Linked DNA regions of Homo sapiens: region 1 is linked to region 2. Evidence: promoter capture Hi-C in human tissues and cell types (Jung and others, 2019). All regions are on one chromosome and are shown on one strand. The core of a region is centred on a gene start or on the middle of the fragment in contact, and the rest is flanking DNA. Distances in the headings are between cores, read along the strand shown. Region 1 has its middle 34 kb from the start of LINC02332. Region 2 holds the start of CDH24 (cadherin 24).

What was found. Contacts are between HindIII fragments. The study calls those that stand out against the background at their distance.
Region 1: a contact is called between a fragment that was not itself captured here and the fragment with the promoter of CDH24 in region 2, in 1 of the 25 tissues and cell types used here (aorta).

What each region holds. Positions count from the first base shown.
Region 1 is chr14:22,521,103-22,525,419 of GRCh38, forward strand. It overlaps TRA, TRAJ22, TRAJ21, TRAJ20 and TRAJ19. Among named protein-coding and RNA genes, the nearest start is that of LINC02332, 34 kb to the right of the region's middle. The HindIII fragment of the contact is 5,765 bases long and covers 1-4,317 here.
Region 2 is chr14:23,055,995-23,060,130 of GRCh38, forward strand. It overlaps CDH24 (cadherin 24), which reads right to left and starts at 1,526. Exons shown (of 13, transcript NM_144985.4): 1 at 1,409-1,526. It overlaps ACIN1 (apoptotic chromatin condensation inducer 1), which reads right to left. Exons shown (of 19, transcript NM_001386863.1): 19 at 2,570-3,480. The coding sequence ends at 3,154. It overlaps LOC105370705 (collagen alpha-2(I) chain-like), which reads left to right and starts at 1,666. Exons shown (of 2, transcript NR_169511.1): 1 at 1,666-2,048; 2 at 2,291-2,655. RefSeq lists silencers at 1,406-1,525, 1,606-1,755. The HindIII fragment of the contact is 20,564 bases long and covers 1-4,136 here.

The DNA.
Region 1 (4,317 bases), core at 672-3,171, 530 kb before region 2:
GAGCTAGAACTAGATTTTAGGTCTCTAATTTGCCAAACCTGTCAGTTGGCTCAAACTTGAAGTTTGAAGAGTCCGCAAGATTCATCTGACAAATATTTTCATGTACTTGCCCTCTGCCAGGCTCGTTGCTGAAACCAGGGATCCAACAGGAAGCAAACTCAGTGTGATATTGCCTTCATGAAACTTACATTCTGGAGGTGGATTCCATGTTTCTTCCCAGATATGACAATGCTTACCCTGATTTCTCTTGGGCATGGCTCTCTTATACTATCATCACTTCCTTAGGAAATACTAAAACTAATTTTTGCTGCAGTTTAAAGTCCTTGAGCAGATAACTAACACACATACCACTTTAGTCAGGAGAAGGGAAATGCCCAAAAGTGAAGTAGAAAACTAGGAATTTGTCTGATAATTGATTATTATAAAGTTATTTTATCAGTGTGAAATGAGTGGCCAAATTAACTGGACAATGCCAGCTCTGTACCTACCTCACTTTGATTCTATAGACTCAGTCTCAGGAGGATTCAAGAATTCAGACAGTTCTCTGATGACATAATCCAGTGATGCCCACAACAGAGGAGGCGTATTCTCTATTCTGGACTTTGTGAGTCTCCTTGGATGAAAAGATTCAAGTGCTGTTTTGACACCTAAAATCAGAGAGTATTTGCTCTATACATATATCGAAAATACACAGTTAATGTTTAGAACTTTGTAGTGGAAAGTGGAAAGCAAAGGTCCCCTAAAAGAAAATGGGATTGTAAAGACGAAGGAGGGTTAGTTTAGGATTTGTAGAAAGTCAGTTTGGCTACTCCAGACCAAACCTAGATTAACAGTGATGCAGGCCTAATTCATAAAGGAAGCACTGCCAGCTCTTTATTCAGTGCTTTGCCAACCTGGCCTGTTTGATCTGGTTTTTGTTGTTGAGCAAATCATAGTGTTTCTTCTGGTTCTGCAAGGCAACTGACCTTTGGATCTGGGACACAATTGACTGTTTTACCTGGTAGGCTGCCTCAATTAAATACTATTTGCACTGATTTACTAATCTACAAATGTATTCTGTACATGTAACTTAATGGGCCTGAGGTTGAAGATGGGGAGAGACAGCAACAATGCATACTAGAAAGGGTAATGCGAGCAGAGAATTATTTATCAGAGACCAAGAAGAGAAAGAGAAGCTTTTTGCTAAGGCTTTTAGTAATAGGAGTTAATGAAAATGAATAGAAAAAAATTTCATTTTAACTTAGAAGAATTGCTGAATAATGGGAACAGATTCCATAAGGGGAACCTCTGCTTCTGAAAATATTTGCACTAGGACCAGCCTACGTGCTACAAAAACTGTCTCACACCAAGTCTAGTTGGTCACTTACATTTTTAGCCTATTCTAGTAGCTATTTCTAAATAAGTCTTTAAACATAGAGGTGCCTATATTTAAGATATTTAAATGAGGCTCTATTTCTATAGCTCTCTGGTGCCCTTCCAGCAAAGCATTGCTGTAACACATTGCTTATCATTTCTACAAGTGAGAACAAGTAAGCCCCTGGCCCTCCAAAATTGCATGAGTATTATAATTACTTGGCTTAGATTGAAGTCACTTCTGTGTTACTTCTCATAACTGTGTTCATTTGTTGAGATCTGTTTAACTCCAAACTGTGTGGGCGTCTAACTGTTGGCACTAAGGTTTCTTTTCTCTTGAAATTGCCAGCAAAATATTTTACCCATAAATAATGTTTCATCTAGACTTGCAAATGACAACTAACACTGCAGGCTCTTTTTTTTTCTTTTGCTTTGTTTCTTTTTTTCTGAAGGGAATATGCAAGCAGGAAGCAAAAAAAAAAAAAAAGCCAAAATGTACAGTTTGACTGTGGGGTCTGGGAGGAGAGTGTCAATGTGGATGCTAAAATATACATGGTTGTATAATGTAGGTACTGTCACAGAGAGGCTATAGTGATCTTATTAGATCATACATACAGAGCACCACTGGTCAGCTGGCGTTGCTCGGGGTGTCCTTAAGAAAAGCTCAGGTCTAGTTGTCAAGTGCAACCCAGATTCAGATACAGAGTCTCAGAGAGAAGCTTCCAGATCACCCTGGAGCTAAATGCAGAATATGAATTTTCCCCTTAGTTAAGTCTACCTGAGGGGAATTTTCATTTATAATTAGGAAAAGAGAAAGGTAAAGAACATTTACTTGCAGTGTCCTGTTTCAAATATTGTGTGCATTGAGCACAGAGGACACAAGAATGAACCCAAGCAGAAAACTAAAGAAAAGAAATCAATAAAACCACTGAAGAAAACCAGTTGCCCTTATCTTGCCTGTCTCTGATAATGAATGTGCCTTCCCTGCTCATTCCTCACTTTGGTTCTCAAATTTTCCAGGGAATTAGCAAAGAACTGGTAGGGTTGGGTTAGTCTTGGTCTAATTTGGTTAGTCATCTCTGGATAACAAGTCTCCTTTTTAGGAAGTGCCAGGGGATTTTTTGTAATGCCAATAAACATGGTGTACAACTTCAACAAATTTTACTTTGGATCTGGGACCAAACTCAATGTAAAACCAAGTAAGTTATAGTTGCCTAGAAGAAAAAGTTACCAACACATTATGCTAAATTCTTCTTTTCAGTCTGTATTTCAGTTCTTTTATTTTGCATTTTGGGTCCCCACCCATGATATTTTATTAGTCCTTATTCATATGTCACTTGAACAGATATGTAGTAAACAAATCTCATGATCGAGTAGACATGCTGAAACTGCCAATGTTCTCAAGGTGCTATTCTTTATAAGGAAAATGCCCAAATTTTAACTGTTGCTACTGAACAAAAGAGCATTTGGATATAATTTAAAGCACCCCTGAATGTCCAGGATTTCAGAGAGGAGACATGACAAATTAAAATTATATGTATTATTTAAAGATGAAAAGAATTAGATCCTCTTGAAAATACTCTAATAACTAACATTTCTTCAACATTCGCAATATGCAAAGCACCTTTCATACCTTGACTCATCTGACCCTCCTAACAACCCTCTGGGATAGATATTACCTATCTCCGCTTCCACAGATGAGGAAACAGTGTGAAAGGTAAAACTAAAGCAAAGAGGTTGAAATAGTTACCCAAGGGCTCACCGCAGATGAGGGGCAGAGCTAGATTAAGAGCCTGGCCTGCCTGTCCCCTAGCCCACTCTCTTAACCATGGTCTTGGTGAGGTTTGTGTAGGGCGACCTCGCACTGTGGTTCTAACGACTACAAGCTCAGCTTTGGAGCCGGAACCACAGTAACTGTAAGAGCAAGTAAGTAAGAAAGAAAAGTCCAGAATAATTTTAAGCAAAATGGTGGGTAGGTTTTTCAGCAATTTCACCTAGGAAGTGCAATGTCAAGAACTAAATTCTAAGAGCTTTCCCAGTTTGTGTTAGAACCATAATTTTTCTACCTCACACGTCTCCCTCGCCTTCTCTGTCACCTCAGAACAGCTCCTCCTAAGGCATGACTTCACAATGGTACATTTGTTGGTGGCGCAGTCTTTGTGGTCAGATAAAAACTGAGCTAATTATCTGAAATTATCTCAGGTCTCTAAGTGAGAGAGTTAACTCCTTTCAAATATTTGAAGAACTACGATGTAGACCAGGTAAGGGGTGAGTGTGGAGGCCAAATCAAAACGAGCAGGTGCAAGATGTGCCCCAACCTCCCCTCAAACATTGTTGAACAAGTGGAACTGCCCTGCAGTGGAAAGGCTGCTTTGTGAAGTATGGAACTTTTCTTCCTTAGATATCTTCATGCCAGACCCCTAAGGTTAACCATGAGATGTTGCAGAAGGCACTTCTATGCCATTTTAGCTATTAGATTGAATCACCTCTGGGCTCCCTTTCAAATCTAAATGCTAAGATCCCATGACTCAAGCCTGGAGGATTAATAGGTGAGCTCAGACTTGTTTCTTCTATTTTTACTATTTTGATAGCCAAAGAAATAATTCATCAAATTATTCATAAGCTAAAGCCTACTTGGGATTTTTACACCTAGAAGATGGTGGGGTATGATTTCCCAGTGCAGTAAATGAGAAAACAATAGGAGACATCAAGGAGGAAAAAAAGAAGGAAGAGATAAAGGGAATGTCTTAAGGGAGGCTCAGAGGTTGAATGAAGGAAATGAGGTGATTTTGCAGAGGACAGATGTGGCTATCAAAGATTTTACAATTTCACCTTTGGAAAGGGATCCAAACATAATGTCACTCCAAGTAAGTGAGCAGCCTTTTGTACTCGAAAATAGGGCCAGGGGAGCAAAGTTTCTTCCAATTTAAACACACTCAAAAGGATGTGTAATTGCTTTCTGAT
Region 2 (4,136 bases), core at 276-2,775:
GCTGATCCTTCCTCCACCCAGGCTCTGCATGTATTCACCTCCAGCCCTCCAAGCTGATAAATCTCTGGTCAGTCAACTCTGAGTAGAGAACTGGGGAGGAACACAGGAGAGGGGATGCTGGGAGGGCTTGGAATCCCAAATCTGGTCTCTGTCCTCCCAGGTTGGGCACGTAGCCAGGTATTGGAGGAGGCGGGGCTACCAGAGAAAGGGCTTAAAATTACGGAGTTGGGATTCATGGAGGTGTGGCCTTAAGGTGTCTAGGGTCAGCATGAGATGACAAGGAGTGCAGCCTCAGGCAGGGCTGAGAGTCTGTGAAAGTCCCTCCCCACAAGGGGGAGCCCCACTCTCCAGGCCCTGTCTCCAGCCCACGCTGCCAGTGCAGTCCTTGAAGGGGGACTGGGCTCGTGAGACAGGAGTTGGGAGCCAGAGCTGAAGGAAGAGGATACAGGGTGGGGGACAGGGGGAGGTGACCGGGGAGAGAGGTCCACCCAGAGGCTAGAGACAGATAATGACTGACGGCTAGACTGACTCAGGGACTGTCCGGCAGAGAAATGACTGGATGAGAGACAGAAACAGAACAGTGGCAAGAGACAGAATGAGAGAGACCAGGGCAGCAGCCTGGGTGTCTGAAGGCAGAGAGGAGTCCTAGGGGCCAGGCTTGGAAACGGGTCACCGGGGGCAGTTCCGGGCAGGCAGGGGCAGACCTCAGCTTCGGGGGTGTCAAGCCAGGCCTCGGGAACTTAATTCTGGGAGAAGGAGCAGACAGGAGGGGTGGAGGCAGGGAGGGGCCACGGGAAGGGAGCTAGAGAGGAGACCCTTCCCACTGCTCTCCTTTCTCCTAGGGGCGGGGGGGAGGACCCCTCAGGTAGCTGTGGCTTCTGCCCCTCCTCCCTCAGAGCAGACACACACCTGACAGTCCCTTTGCTCCCGAGGGAAGGGGGAAACCGGAGGAAGGCTGGGGACCAGAGAGAAGGCGGGATGAGGAGGCGAGAAGGAAGGGGATAGAGGAGTGGGAAACAGGATAGCAGGAAGGGGAGAGGAGAGGGAGGGAAAGGAGAGCAAGAAAGAGAAAAGAGAAAGGCAGGAAAGGGGAGAAAGGTAGAGAAAGAAAAAGGCAAAGAGGGAGAGGAGATGGAAAAAGGACAAGAGGGAGAGGGAAGGGTTGGGGAGACAGAGGGAAGGGATAAGGAAGGCAAACAGGCAGAGAAGGAAGGGTGAAGAGAAATCGAGAGAAGAAAGAGGGAGAGAGGTGCGAGGGGAGAAGGGAAAGAGGCAGAGCGCGGGAGAAGGGAGCCGGCAGCGGGCTCCCAGCCACGGAGCGCACCCCTCCGAAGACCCCCGCAGGCTGCGGGCCCCCTCCTACCCCTCCGCGGATTCCCGACCCCTGCTCCGGGGCAGGCGCCCTTACCTGGCACTGCCGAGGGGCCCAGGCCGGCGGGAAGCGCCCCCGCCCGCCCCCGTCGCCGGGTCCCGGGGGCACAGCCCCGAGCCGATTGGAGCGGGCGCCGCGGCTCCGCTGCAGGTCTGAGCGGCCCCGGCGAGAACAAGGGAGCGAGACGGAGGGGGCGGGGGAAGAAGACTCCGCCTGCGGAGGAGCGAGGCGGCTCCGCGCCGCGCGGGAGAGGAGAGCCCAGCCTCCGACCCTCCCCGGCCAGCCGGGCCCGCGCGGCGGGGGCGGGGGCGGAGGCGGCGCCGCGCGTCCGCCCCCTCGGCGCTCCTGGGCTGCGGGGCGCATACAGATGCGGCGCCCCTCCCGGACCGGGCCCGCAGCGCCCGGCAGGGCACTCGGGCGGGAGGACGTCCAGGCCACGGCGCCAGGCCATTTCCGAAGAGCTGGCGGGGCGGGTGCACCCGGGAGCGCGAAGCTGCCAGTCCCCGCCCGCAGCGGAAAACGGGCGAGCGCGCGGTGAGGTGGGGAATTCGGAGCCCACTGCGGAGAGACCCGGCTCCGGGCTCCCGGTTCCCGGCTGGCTTTTGGGACTGGTGTGGATGGAATCCCAGCTGCAAGGCGGCGGCGTTTTGAGAGCCCATGCAAAGCACGGTAGCAGGTCAGCTGGGGGACACTTAAGGACGGCAGAAGGGTCCAGAGAGTCCGAGGCCCGGGCCCAGGGAGCGGGTCGGGAACAGAGGCACGACATCGGCGGGAGGTCGGAGGCGGGCAGTGGAACCCTTCTTGGGAAGCTCGGTTACAGGGGCCAACAGAGCGAGGAGCTGCCGCCCCCTGGTGGTAGTTGTGGGAGGCACCAAGGTGGCAGGCAGGTGACCAAACCCCTAATTTAACCGTGCACAGGACCAGGAACCAGAAGAGGACCCACCCTCCTAGCCCTGCTGGGGTGCCGCCACGGACACAGGTTGCTCCATGCCTTCCCGAATGAGGAAGGTCCACAGCTTTGGGTTGGTCAGGGCCAAGGCAGGGGATAAAAGACGTGGGAAGTTCAATAAGCAGGAAGCAGTCAGCCTAAAGGAACACATGGAATGAGAGCAACTCCTACTCCAGATATCCTCAGATGTCCACGCTCAGATATCCACAGTGGCTTCTTAACCTGCCCAAAGAAAGCCACTCACACAGTTTAAAACTAAGTCAGATTTTTATTTTTTTTTCCATAGACCACATCATTTAATAATAAAAAAAATAAAAATAAAAATTGAACAAAAGGAAAAGGTGGATATAAAGTGGAACCTGTGGGAAAGAGGCAAGGGCTGCAGGACAGAAGAGACTGGGAACTGCAGGGGCCCTGGGACTCAGGAGGAGATGCTGATTCAGCTCATAGGTGACCCAGTCCTGGCCCCGGCTGTTCCCAAGAGAAGGCTGTAAGTACCCAGGGAGGTGGTAAGCAGGATGGAGGAAAAATCAGAGGACTGGGGCACCTGGCTGTTCCCCATCTCTGGCCAACCACCTCCTTGCCTAACCTAGCTCTTGCCTCTCAGACTTAATGGGAAATGAGAGGGAGGGTCGGGCTAAGTCCCAAGAGATAGGTTAAGGGGGTGTGTTTGGGGGGAAAAGGATGGCCACTTTTCCATTTGGTATGTATGTAGGGATAGGTGATGTGAAAGACCCTTGGCTCCAGGGTGGTGGAGACTGTGCCTATCCCTCTGTGGCCATAACCCCCTGGGGCCGAGTGGCTGGTACCTGCAGCTCTAGTGTTTTCCCAGCTAGCGGCGCCCACCCCGGTCCCGCACAGGTGTGCTCCGACTCCGGCTTCTGCTGTGGCGCTTGGTGTCCCTGCGATCCCTTTCCCTGCCTCGTTCTCGGTCCCTTTCCCTATCCCGATCTCGGTCCCCCCTGTCCCGCTCCCTTTCTCTCTCTCTCTCCCTGTCCCTCTCCCGACTGTGCTCCCGACGTTTCTCTCGCTCCAGCTGTCGGTTCCGTTCCCGCTCGGCTTCCTTCTCCCGCTCCTTTTGCTCTTCTTCTTCTTGCTCCTTTCGCCGCTTCTCCCGCTCCTTGGCCCGTTCGGCCCGCTCTGCCTCTTTCTGAACGATCTGTAGCCAGGTAGGAAAGGCAGAGAATAGGCAGCTCAGTCCTGGTCACAGCCTCCATTTGTGCCTGGACCCTGCCTCCTAGCTCAGGGTCAGCTTTTCAGTTAAACAGGAAGGGGTTGGGGGCTCAACAACTGCATCCTGTCTTTCTTAGAGCACCTCTCTCCCTCCTAGTTTCAGCCTTTTTTTTTTTTTTTCTGAGACGGAGTCTCGCTCCGTCGCCCAGGCTGGGAGTGCAGTGGCACGATCTCGGCTCACTGCAAGCTCCACCTCCCGGGTTCACACCATTCTCCTGCCTCAGCCTGCTGAGCAGCTGGGACCACAGGCGCCCGCGACCACGCCCGGCTAATTTTTTTGTATTTTCAGTAGAGACGGGGCTTCACCGTTGTTAGCCAGGATGGTCTTGATCTCCTGACCTCGTGATCCGCCCGCCTCAGGCTCCCAAAGTGCTGGGATTACAGGCGTGAGCCACCGCGCCCCGCCAGTTTTTTTTTTTTTTTTTTTTTGAGACAGTCTCACTCTGTCGCCCAGGCTGGAGTGCAGTGGTGCTATCTTGGCTCACTGTGGTCTCCGACTCGCAGGTTCAAGTGATTCTCCTGCCTCAGCCTCCCTAGTAGCTGGGATTACAGGTGTCTGCCACCATGCCCCACTAAGTTTTG